Linked DNA regions of Homo sapiens: region 1 is linked to region 2. The links are contacts of gene promoters, found by promoter capture Hi-C in human tissues and cell types (Jung and others, 2019). All regions are on one chromosome and are shown on one strand. The core of a region is centred on a gene start or on the middle of the fragment in contact, and the rest is flanking DNA. Distances in the headings are between cores, read along the strand shown.

What was found. The method cuts DNA at HindIII sites, captures the fragments that hold promoters and counts their contacts. A contact is called where the count stands out against the background at its distance.
Region 1: a fragment that was not itself captured here is called in contact with the fragment with the promoter of KLHDC2 in region 2 in 2 of the 25 tissues and cell types used here (dorsolateral prefrontal cortex and hippocampus).

The regions. Positions count from the first base shown.
Region 1 is chr14:50,302,250-50,309,182 of GRCh38, forward strand. It overlaps L2HGDH (L-2-hydroxyglutarate dehydrogenase), which reads right to left. Exons shown (of 10, transcript NM_024884.3): 2 at 653-768. Among named protein-coding and RNA genes, the nearest start is that of MIR4504, 5.8 kb to the left of the region's middle. The HindIII fragment of the contact is 4,534 bases long and covers 2,392-6,925 here.
Region 2 is chr14:49,765,844-49,771,832 of GRCh38, forward strand. It overlaps KLHDC2 (kelch domain containing 2), which reads left to right and starts at 2,310. Exons shown (of 13, transcript NM_014315.3): 1 at 2,310-2,778; 2 at 5,751-5,830. The coding sequence starts at 2,626. RefSeq lists silencers at 1,710-1,769, 2,110-2,189, 2,360-2,539. The HindIII fragment of the contact is 15,286 bases long and covers 1-5,445 here.

The DNA of each region.
Region 1 (6,933 bases), core at 3,409-5,908, 540 kb after region 2:
AAGCTATTAGAGACCACATCATGTAAAATTCTGCCTGAATTTGTTCAGATCACTGGTAACTTCTTCTAACATCCCTGGTATCCATGTCACATCCCTCCAGCCCATCTCTGATTTCAACTACAACTTTGGTGCACAAACTCACCTCTCATTACCAGCAAACCACTTCAGGGGCCCCCTAGGGCTCTTTGCACTCTGCCTTGGGGCCTCTGGTAACTTTTTTAGAGAAGGGCACGGGGTGCTCAACATCACTAGCGGCAATCCTCAACCAATAGAGAGAAGAGCCGATGGATAAAGTGAGCACAATCCTGGGAAATACTACATTGCTCCTCAGAGGCTCCGGTGGAATCAAGCTCACAGCCACAATCTTGATGTGTTCTCATGTCTTTTCCTCCTTCCCTGTCTTACTTTCCTCACCCCCTCACTCCTGTTTCCTGAGATAACCTCTCAAATAAATAACCTATAGACACGTCCTCCTTGTCCCACACTCGGCTTTAACCTCTCAAATAACCTATAGCCATGTCCTTGTCCCACACTCTGCTTTTAGAACACAAACTAAGAAACTAACACTGACATTCAGCATGAAAGATTCACAACAGACAAAATGAGCAGATGCCCAAGTAAGCCCAAAGAACAACATTGATTATATACATACCTAAATCTTTCTCCTTTTCCAGAACACCAATAGAAAGTGATGGATGTCGCAGGATGAGTGCTCTGGCAGAGGCAAGCCCCACAATTCCGCCACCAACGATGACTATATCAAATGAGCTTCAAAAGAAAGTCATCTTTAAAGTAATTCATATTTACAGTAGACCTCGCCAAACTTCACATGCATAATTTTCATCAATGGACAATTAAACCATTAATTTGTAATCATGAAAACGTATTCGGCGGCCGGTCGCAGTGGCTCACACCTGTAATCCCAGCACTTTGAGTGGCCGAGGGGGGCGGATCACGAGGTCAAGAGATCGAGACCATCCTGGCCAACATGGTGAAACCCCGTCTCTACTAAAAATACAAAAATTAGCTGGGCGTGGTGGCGCGTGCCTGTAGTCCCAGCTATTTGGGAGGCTGAGGCAGAAGAATCACTTGAACCTGGGAAGCAGAGGTTGCAGTGAGTGGAGATCACGCCACTGCACTCCAGCCTGGTGACAGAGCAAGGCGACAGAGCAATGTATTGGGCCCTGTGCTGTTTGGTTTCACATGTATTAAAAAAAAAAAACCCTTAAAAGTTATACTAATCAAGCCTGGGTGTGATGGCTCATGCCTGTAATCCCAGCACTTTGGGAGGCCAAGGTGGGTGGATCACTTGAGGTTAGGAGTTCAAGACCAGCCCGGCCAACATGGTAAAACCCCATCTTTACTAAAAATACAAAAATTAGCTGGGTGTGGTGGCAGGCACCTGTAATCCCAACTACTCGGGAGGCTAAGGCTGGAGAATCGCTTGAACCTGGGAGGCGGAGGTTGCAATGAGCCGAGGTCATGCCACTGCACTCCAGTCCAGCCTGGGAGACAGCGCCAGACCCTGTCTCAAAAAAAAAAAAAAAAAGTTAGACGCATTAAAAAAAAAAAAAAAAAACCTCAAAAGTTATACGCATCACTGGTCAGTAGTATAATCAACTACAGCTTACTGGCAGGCAGGATAGCTGGTTGCCCAATCTGCTCTTTATCTCCATAGCACGGCAGCCAGGCTGGTTACATAAGTGACTGCAGTCATGCGTTGCTTAACCATAGGGTTAGGTTCTAAGAAATGCATTGGTAGGCGATTTCCTTGTGCAAACAGCATAGAATGTACTTACACAAACCTAGATGATATAGCTTACTGTACACCTAGGCTATATGGGATAGCTTATTGCTCCTAGGCTACAAGCCTGTACAGCAGGTTACTATATTGAATACTGCAGGCAACTGTAACACAATGGTAAGTATCTGTGCATCTAAAAATGTGTACATATAAAAAAGGTACAGAAAAAATATGGTATTATAATCTTTGGTATCACCACTGTACATGCAGTCTGTGGTTGACCAAAATGTTGTTATGCGGTGCATGACTATACTTTGTGTTAAGCATAGTCATGATTCTACTACCCAGCCTTTCAAAATTCCAATGTAGTACTCTTGACAATGTGTTAACACATTAAAGCTTTAACACTTTAGTGTGCAAGAATTTTTACAAGTTTTTCTTTGAGAAGTAAACAACTCCGAGAAAATAAACCTTGGGGCAATAATTGGTCCAGAAATGGGCTTAGGAACCACAATCTTTGCCATGGCAAATCCTGATTATACAACCATTTACAAAATTAGGGCCGGGCGTGGTGGCTCACGCCTGTAATCCCAGAACTTTGGGAGGCCAAGGCGGGCAGATCACGAGGCCAGGAGGTTGAGACCATCCTGACTAACACGGTGAAACCCCATCTCTACTAAAAATACAAAAAATTAGCCAGGCGTGGTGGCGGGCACCTGTAGTCCCAGCTACTCGGGAGGCTGAGGCAGGAGAATGGCGTGAACCCAGGAGGCGGAGCTTGCAGTGAGCCAAGATTGCACCACTGCACTCCAGCCTGGGCGACAGAGCGAGACTCTGTCTCAAAAAAAAAATTTAGAACAACCATGTATAATTTATATAAATCTGCAATTCGAAGCTTAAAAGATTACCTTTAACACTGACCTGATAGCCAACAAATATGGATCTTATAGGAACTGTAGACAGAGGGAAATTTCAGAGATTAGGCCCTTTCTTCGAAAAGTGATCTAAGTTTCAATTTCAAAATCCTTAGCAAAGCACATCAATTTGATTAGAATTGCTACCACATCTTTGGCTGTATCTGGAACCAGAAACAGATCCTAGACAACTAGGAACTAACACGTAAGCTTGATAAATCAAATCCTGCATCTTAAATTAACTTGGGGGTCATAAGTGGATAAAGTTCCCTCTGTCAGAGCATAAGCCTTATACTTGAACAGGGAGAACCTCCAGGTGATGCTCAGCAGGTGGTTCTCCTGCAGCAGCTTTAGATTGGATAAAATGGTTGTCAAGGATGGTGAATGATGCCCACTTTTAAAAAGAGAGGGCATAAAAAGAGCAGCACAAGTAAAATGGGATTCTGGGTCCACTACATTAATACTAGTTATTGGCAAATGCCTACAGTGGTCAACTAAAAAATTACTAATGTGATCAGAATGTATTTGGAAGTCCAAGCCTTTAAGCAGGTTTTAAAAAAACATAAGTTCAGTGGATAAAAGGTAAAGCATTCACATTCCACTAGGTACTTACACTGATTTACAGATTGACCCTTTACACAACTTTCACAATAAACAGATGTTTTATGGATTCTAAAATAGCCTGGCTTTTAAGAATTCCAGAATAACTATTGTTAAGATAGGCTTTTTATTTTTCAAAACCTCTATAATCTTCCACTAAGGTAGGTGTTCAAAACACTTACAAATACTTAAGATATTTGTATGTGTATTACTTAATCATATTTTATATACAGTCATCCCTCAATATCCACAGGGGATTGGTTTCAGGACTCCCATGGATACCGAAATCCACGTATGTTCAAGTCTTGTATACGAAATGGCACAGTATTTGCATATAATCTACACACATCCTCCAATATACCTTAAGTCATCTCTGGATCACTTATACTACATAGTACCATGTAAATGCTATGTGAATAGTTGTTATACTGTATTTTAAATTGTGTTATTTTTTACTGTTTTTTCCAAATATTTTGATCCATAGTTGGTTGAATCTGCAGATGCAGAACCCACAAAAACGAGGACTGACTGTTTTGACTGACTTTTTTTTTTTTTTTTCGGTGAGATGGAGTCTGGCTCTGTCGCCAGGCTGGAGTGCAGTGGCATAATCTCGGCTCACTGCAACCTCCAGCTCCCGGATTCAAGCGATTCTTCCACCTCAGCCTCCCAAGTAGCTGGGACTACAGGTGCGCGCCACCATGCCCAGCTAATTTTTGTATTTTTAGTAGAGACGGGGTTTCACCATGTTGGCCAGGATGGTCTCAATCTCTTGACCTCGTGATCCGCCCACCTCAGCCTCCCAAAGTGCTGGGATTACAGGTGTGAACCACCGTGCCCAGCTGTATTTTTTTAATTTATCAAGTTGATATCTATATCAATTACATGGCAGTGTGTGTATAAGAGAGATATCTTTCATACTGTTTTTCTTTCTTACTTTCAAGTTCAACTATGATGCTATGTTTTGCCTTCAAGGCTCATTTTCTGTAAAAGGTAGCATAACCTTGGCCCTTACAGGGGTGGTCTTGACTTCCATAATAATGCTTCTCATCCTTGCTGCCTTTTGTTTTTTTTGGGGGGTTTTTTTGTTTTGGGGTTTTTTTTTTTTTTTTAGATGGAGACTAGTGATTAAATGTTGATGTTCTAAAAGCTGACTCTGGCTGCTGCGTGTTGGTGGATAGCGGGAGTAGAGTCGGATACCAGTTAACAGTGATTGTGATTTGTTGTGGGGCATGTAGACAGTTCTTTTGGGAAGCTTTTCTTAAGGAAAGAAAAGCAGGGCTGGTGAAAGTTTTGTTTATACTGAAAATTTTTTTTTAAAAAATTTTGGAGTCAGGGTCTCACTCTATTGCCTAGGTTGGAGTGTAGCAGCATGATCTCGGCTCACTGCAGCTTCCCACTCCCAGGTTCAAGTGATTCTCCTGCCTCAGCCTCCCTAGTAGCTGATATTATAGGCGAACACTGCCATGCTGGGCTAGTTTTTGTATTTTTACTAGAGACGAGGTTTCACCACGTTGGTCAGGCTGGTCTCAAACTCCTGACCTCAGGTGATCCACCCGCCTCGGCCTCCCAAAATGCTGGGAATACAGGCGTGAGCCACTGCGCCTGGCCCCTTGCTGCCTTTTGATAATTATAACACAAAAGCTTTTGGGGAGGTAGACCTTCCACTTAGAATTATTACCTTGGTACAGATTCCCAGCCAAGATATTGTCTTTGCAGATTATACTACAACTATCAATAAACCCTTCTTATTTTCAAACATAAAACTATCATACTGAATATGCTTTTTCCAACTACATGTGCCACCCTTCACTCCCTCTTCTCAAATCTGAAGAATCACTGTTTTATCCAGTGACACAAAATCATTGAAATATGTTTCACAAACAAAAGCACAAATCTCCAAGCATCCACTATGGAGACAGGTGAACAGAACAATAGTCATAGATGAATGCTGGAGGACAGTTGCAGGCCAAGCTAACCACGGAGGCTGAAAGAGACATCTTTCTCTACAACTCACTTAATCTCAAGTTAACACCAATGAATGGTTTAACAGATAATTTTCTTAAGCTTTTTATGGAAAAGTTCATACCTACACAAAGTTAGACAAAATAGTTCAATGAAGCCCCACATATACATCACCCAGCTTCACTAATTATCAACTCACAGCAAATCTTGCTTCTTCTATACTCTATTTCATCCCCTCCTGTATTATATTATTTTGATGCAAATCTTAAACACCACATTATTTCATCTGTAAATATTTCAATGTTATTTCTAAAAGGCATCTCTAAAAACACACACTACCATTATAGTTAAAAAAACTAACACAAAATTTTTTACATCACCTAATATTCACTTTAAAACTTTTAGGAAAAAATAGGACAAAATCTTGGGACTTAGAGTTGACATCAAAAACATGATCCATAAAAGAAAAAAAACTGATAAAATGGACTTCATCAAAACATAAAACTTTTGCTCTGCAAAAAGACTCTGTTAAGAGGATAAAAAAACTAAGAAATTGGAAAAAAATACTAGTAACTGCATATCTCCCAAAGGACTCATACATAAAAGAACTCTCAAAACAAGCCATTTAGAACGTAGGCAGGCCGGGTGCGATGGCTCACGCCTTTAATCCCAGCACTTTGGGAGGCCAAGGCGGGCGGATCACCTGACGTCAGGAGTTTGAGACCAGCCATGCCAACATGGAGAAACCCCATCTCTACTAAAAAGACAAAATTGGCTGGGCATGGTGGCGCATGCCTGTAATCCCAGCTACTCGGGAGGCTGAGGCAGGAGAATTGCTTGAACCCAGGAGGCCTCTGCGGTGAGCCGAGACCGCGCCACTGCGCTCCAGCCTGGGCAACAAGGCGAAACTCCATCTCAGAAAAAAAAAAAAAAAAAAAGTGGGCAAAAGATATGAACAAATATTTCATCAAAGAGGACAGATACACAGATGGCAAAGAAGCACATGAAAAGATGTTCAACACCATTAGTCAATGCATTGTTCAAACATCATTGCATCAGAGAAATGTAAATAAAAACCACAATGAGATATCACTACGTCTCTATCAGAATGGCTAAAATTTAAAAAGTGATCACCCCAAATGCTGGTGAGAATGAAGGGAAACTGGATTACTCACACATAGCTGGTGGGAATGTAAAATAGTACAGCCACTCTGGAAAAGAGTATGGCAGTTTCTTAAAAAGAAACTAAACATGGACTTACTACATGACTCAGTAACTGCAGTCTTGGGCATTTATTCCAGAGAAATGAAACTTATGTTCATACAAAAACCTGAACATGAATGTTCATAGTAGCTTTATTCGTAATAGCCAAAAACTGGAAGCAGCTTGGATGTTCTTCAACCCATGGTAAACGGTTAAACAAATTGTGATGTATCCATACCATGGAATTCTATTCAACAATTTTGAAAAACCTGCTATCAATACAGGCGACGCCTTGCATGGATCTTAAGGATAGTATGCTGTGTGAAAAAAAGCCAATCTCCAAAGGCTTGTTTTGAGAGTTCTTTATGTATTTTGTGTATTAGTCCTTTGGGAGATATGCAGTTGCTGGTATTTTTTTCCCACGTCTTGGTAGTTTTTTCATTCTCTTAACAGTCTTTTGCAGAGCAAAAGTTTTTCATTTTGATGAAGTCCATTTTGTCAATTTTTTTC
Region 2 (5,989 bases), core at 1,060-3,559:
ATTATAGGCATGAGACACTGCGCCAGGCCGACTTAAGTGAAGAAAATCTGGCCTCACACAGATACATAGTTAGAAAAGAGAGTTCCTTAAGGAGCCCCTGAAAAGGTCTCCAGGTACCCACGGGGCTTGGAACTATACTTTGATACACTGAGAAACTCTGCTTATAGTACAACTAATTAATGTGTTTCAGAGACTCTTTTTGTTGTTACTGCTCTAAGTAGGATAAAAGTATGGTTTGAAACATAAATAAGTAAATCAAAGTGGATATTATAGTATTTTATTAAATGGCATATATATACGAAATATAGGCTGGGTGGGTGCGGTGCCTCACGCCTGTGATCCCAGCACTTTGAGAGGCCGAGGCGGGTGGATCACCTGAGGTCAGGAGTTCGAGACCAGCCTGGCCAACATGGTGAAATCCCATCTCTACTAAAAAATACAAAAATCAGCCGGGCGTGGTGGCAGGTGCCTTAGTCCCAGCTACTTGGGAGGCAGAGGCAGGAGAATCGTTTGGACTCGGGAGGCGGAGGTTGCAGTGAGCCGAGATCGAGCCAGTGCACTCAAGCCTGGGGGACAAGAGCGAGACTTCTCTCGAACAAACAAAAAACAAAAACGATGATAGAAGGGTAATGTAGCTGGAAGGAGGACACAGCCAGGAATTGAAGCTGGAAAGGCAAGCTGGGTCTGGACCATGCTGGGTCTTCTTGCACAGCACTGTGATATGAATTTTTTTTTTTTTTTTTTTTTTTTTTTGAGACGGAGTTTCGTTCTTGTTGCCCAGGCTGGAGTGCAATGGTGCCCTTTTGGCTCACTGTAACCTCCGCCTCCCGGCTTCAAGAGTTTCTCCTGCCTGAGCCTCCCAAGTAGCTGGGATTACAGGCGCCGGCCACCAAGCCTGTGTAATTTTTTTGTATTTTCAGTAGAGACAGAGTTTCGCCATTTTGGCCAGGCTGGTCTCGAACTCCTGGCCTCAGGTGATCCGCCTGCCTCGGCCTTCCAAAGTGTTGGGATTACAGGCGTGAGCCACCGCGCCCAGCCGAGATATTAATTTTGGATTCTACTAAGGACGACGGGAGCCAGCTCAAGGTTTTTAAGTGACTCGATCAGATTCACGAGGTTGGTTCACAAGGAACTTCGATAACCCCAAAGTCTAGTGAGCATAATTCGACTGGGAGAAGACACTGCTGCAAGGAATTCTGTGAACCAGACAGATTTGAGGGCACCAACCAGGGTGGATGGCAGATAAGGTCTTAACAGCCTCAAGGTGATTTGCTTCCTTGTTGAAGGCTTTAATTAATCCTCTTAAGTAACTTTCAAGTTCTTGAGTTCAAGTAAACACACTGGCACACTAGGGGAGGAGTGGCAGGCTATAAGCATTTTAATAATTAAAAAAAAAAAGCCTTTTATTGTTCAAAGTGTTCCTTTTCTATGGAGTGCTCCCAACCAGAAGATGAGGGAAATGGAGATAATGAAGCACGTCCCTCCTACCAAACACGATAAATTCTACAGGCACTGTAAGATCAAGAATTTAAGATTATTTTTGTCCCACCCTATTTTACAGGTGAGGTATCAAGCACAGTAACTCGTAATTTTCTTTTGGCCCAATTGAAAGGTATCATATAAGAGAAAGCTGTGTGTGCGTGAAAAGGATCCGCCTTTCTTTCTGAAGAAAAGGGTGGTTACGGCTTCGGAAACGCTTTTCAAGCCAACTCTGCAGCCCGGCTGGCGGCGGCAGCGGCGGCGGCGGCAACGTCAGATTCCCGCAGAGGCGGCGCCCGGCAGGGGCGGCAGGAGCTCAGGAGAGGCCCCCGGGGATCGGGCTGGGCCCCACGTGAGAGCTAAGCGACTGCCCTCGCGCCCGCAGAACAGCAGGGCCTGCATCGACTCTAAGGCGAGACCAGAAACTTGCTAGTGGAGCAATTCTGGTGCCCCTGCCCGGGCTGTGAACCCTCTGAGATCATCCCTCAATCAAACGAATAGAAATCCTCGGGAAGAAAAAAAAAATTGCGGCAATCCGGCTAAAATTCAGCAGCTTTCAGGGACCGATTCAGGACATTATCCCTGTGGTTCCCTCAGTGAAAGGAGACTCGAAGCGCGACTAGAAGTCGCCGGGCCCCATAGATCTGCGGTGCCCAGGCCGTAGGCGGAGGCGCGGGCAGAGGCGGCGGCGGCGGCGGCGGCGGCTGGAGGACCCGGCGCTGGGGGCGCTGAGCGGCAGCCTCGCTTCCGGAGCTCGGCGGGCGGCGTCAGCGGAACGGGCGGCTTCCGGCCGCGGCGTAAACAAGGCCGTGGACTGCAGGAGGCGGGGCAGACGGGCTGCAATAGGGAGCCGGCCCGACGCGGACCGCTTCCCTGCAGTGCCCCGAGTCCCGGGCCCGCGCCGCCGCCGCCCGGCTCCGCTCGCGGCCCCTCTGTCTGCAGGCGTGCCCCGGCGGCGGCGGAGAGCCGTCCTCGGCCGAGGAGGCTGGGAAACGCGAGCGCAGGCGGCAGAGAGGCCTCAACGCCGTCCCTTTCGCCACCGCCTTTTCCTTGCCTCGCGCCGCTGTGCATTTCTCTCCTTTTCCTTTGTTTTTTTGGCCCCTCGCGGGTGTGGGCATTGTTGGTTAGCAAAAGTGCAGCCTCAAGATGGCTGATGGCAACGAGGATCTGCGGGCTGACGACTTGCCTGGGCCAGCCTTCGAGAGCTATGAGTCCATGGAGCTTGCCTGCCCCGCTGAGCGCAGCGGCCACGTAGCCGTCAGCGACGGGCGCCACATGTTCGTCTGGGGCGGCTACAAGGTCAGTGAGTGGCCGGGCCGCGACGGACGTCGCTCGGCTGTGACTCGGGTCTGCGTTCGCGGCCAGGCGGGGAGGCCAGAGCGGGCCGCCGAGGGCGCTCCCCGCCTGCGTCGCGCGCCCCACCTCAGACTCTGCCCGTTGGTTGTTTTTTTTTTGCGCGCGGGAATCTTCCTTCTCTCGAGTACCCCAACCCGTCTCGAACCTCCAGGGCTGCTGTCATGTCACCCTGGTGCTCACAAAGCCAACTCACTCCCACCCCCGTTGTTGCCATTGGAGCGTTATTCCGGGGAAGGCCCTGTTAATGTTGCTTGGGCGGTGCATTCGGAAGGGTTGGGGTGTGAAAGGTGACGGTGTGTGATATCACTCAGACGCGTTATGAGGACGGCCTACGAGGACTTCACCCTCTGGAGCTGGGAACCGCTGCCCACTTACAGGGAGGCCGAGGTGTAGGAAAACTGGAATTCCAAAAGGTTACAGGAACCACCTTATTCAGCCTTCCCGCCTGTGCAAATGGCCATCAGGACTGTTTTCCTTCTGGCTTCAGCTGGGTTGAAGTTTTTCAGCAGACACCCCTATTAAGATAATGGAAAAGCTCCACCAGTAACCAAAAAATCCCCAGCATCAAATGAACTACAGAGTGCAGCTCTTTGACTCTCCGATCCCCTGGTTATAAACAACGTGATTAGTTAGCAGTTTAAAGCCAGTTGCCATTCTTTACCCTGCTAACCTCGGAAATCTAGAATTTTATTTGCTAGGATGGCTCTGAGCCAGTCCTACCACAAAATTCCTCTTTGGTCTTGAAAATGTTCTCCGCCCTCCCCACGCCCGTGCCTTGGATGACTTGCTTTGTGATTGTTTTTAGCTTATGGTACAGCTGACTTGATCATAGTTGACCATTTTTGAGATAGCTTTCAAAGATGGCTGTCCTGATACTTTATTTTGGTTTAACTGCAAAAGTAATTTTTTGCCAATCCTAATGAATCTGCAGTGTTTTCCCCAGTTTCCAATGAATGTGGTTAGAAAATAGAAAGGGGGCCGGGCGCGGTGGCTCACGCCTGTAATCCTAGCACTTTGGGAGGCCAAGGTAGGTGGATCAGCTGAAGTCAGGAGCTCGAGACCAGCCTGGCCAACATAGTGAAACTCCGTCTCTACTAAAAATACAAAAAAAAAAATTAGCCTGGCGTGGTGACGGGCGCCCTAATCCCGTCTACTTGAGAGGCTAAGGCAGGAGAATCACTTGAACCAGGGAGGCGGAGTTTGCAGTGAGCTGAGACGGCGCCATTGCACTCCAGCCTGGGCAACAAGAAGGAAACTGTCTCAAAAATACTTTAGAAAGGGGTAGAGAATTGCAAGAAGGGGGGCGGGGGGGCAAGCATGTAGTCACCCTTATAAAAATGTAAATTAATTCCCCTGGAGAAACCTGTCAATGACACTTCTAAGCTACCTAATTCATAATTGTATTTTTAAAATGACAGCATGAGAGAATAAGACTTTGGGAGTGGGGCAGGGGAGGATTCTTAGTGTGGAATATTTCTTGTGGATTTAAAAGGGCCTGGATGATTGGGGCCGATTCAGGGAGGAGCAGCACAATCACTGAATTGGATGGTTCTGAAACAGACTGCCCTCCCCATTTATGGCTGGTGGCTGGAACCCTGAGGGTAGGCACAGAAGTCCTTGGAGATTGTTTCAAAGGCAATAAACCTTGGCTTCCTACATAGTAGGCAGTTTTCCTCCCCAGGACAGGCTGGTCCCCTGTGGGTCAGCCCGCTTCCAGCCTTTCCCTTCATCACTGGTGGGGTGGAAAAAGAAGTTGTTTTACGTGGTCAACTGTTCTGTTTCTGTATGTTTAATATTCAAGCTTGCTGGACTTTGACACCCATTTTTGGCTAACCGCAGTCGTTTACTGTGTCAACATTGTTCAGAAAGTGGCTAGGGAGGGTCAAAGGCTGGGAATGTCAGGCAGTTGTTAAAGTTCAGGGAAAGGATAGAATCCTGGCTCCATCATTACTTCATAAATAACCTTGGGCAAATTACTTAAACTCTAAACTTGTTTTCTCATAACATCAGCTACTTTTTAGGGTTGTTGTGAGGATTAAATAAAGCAATCCATGGATAGCTTTCAGCTGTGGCATATGGTAGGCTCAGTCTGTGTTAGGAATTAATACCTGAAGGGAAATGGAGCAGAACAAAGAACTTAAAATTCTGCATAAGGATTTAATATTTTGCATATTTGCAGTTCTGCCCTCTCTATTGCTGCTTAGAGAATGGATAGGTGAAAGGAAGGCATGGCTAGAAAACCACGCATCGTGTTAGCGTGGATCAGGCACTTTCAGTAACAGCCTGCTGACCATGGCACAGGCAGTCTCCTGAAGTCATGCAGCTGAAATTTGGTGCATGGTTCTGTTCAGGATAAAGCTGCCTTAGAGAGTTCCCAGAGATCTCTTGGCTGGGCACAATGGCTCACAGCCTGTAATCCCAGCACTTTGGGAGGCTGAGGTGGGTGGATTGCTTGAGGTTGGGAGTTTGAGACCAGCCTGGCCAACATGGTGAAACCCTGTCTCTACTAAAAATACAAAAATTAGCCAGGCGTGATGGCGAGTGCGTGCAGTCCCAGCTACTTAGGAGGCTGAGGCAGGAGAATCACTTGAACCCAGGAGGTGGACATTGCAGTGAGCCAGCCAAGATTGCGCCACTGCACTCCATCCTGAGCAATAGAGACTTGGACTAAAAAAAAAAAAGTTCCCAGAGATCTCTTCTTGTCCTATTGCAACTGCTGTATCAAAATTCTGAATTAAGAGCTATCTATGTTGAGCTTTACCTTGAGTGTGTGGCATGGGTGGGGGAGGATTGTGCACTGTAATACCTATTTTTCATACTAATTATGAAATTAGTATCTCAAGATCGATTTAAAAAATACAGTAGTGCCTCTTTAAAATACCAGTTTTTATATTTACAATTTTTTTTATTCTTAGAGTAATCAAGTCAGAGGATTATATGACTTTTATCTGCCTAGAGAAGAACTATGGATCTACAACATGGAGACTGGAAGATGGTAAATGTGGATATTATAAGGGGGACTAAAAAATTCAGATAAGGGCTGGGCACGGTGGCTGGCTCATGCCTATAATCCCAGCACTTTGGGAGGCCAACGCGGGCGGATCTCTCGAGGTCAAGAGTTCAACACCAGGCTGGGGTGAAACCCCATCTCTAT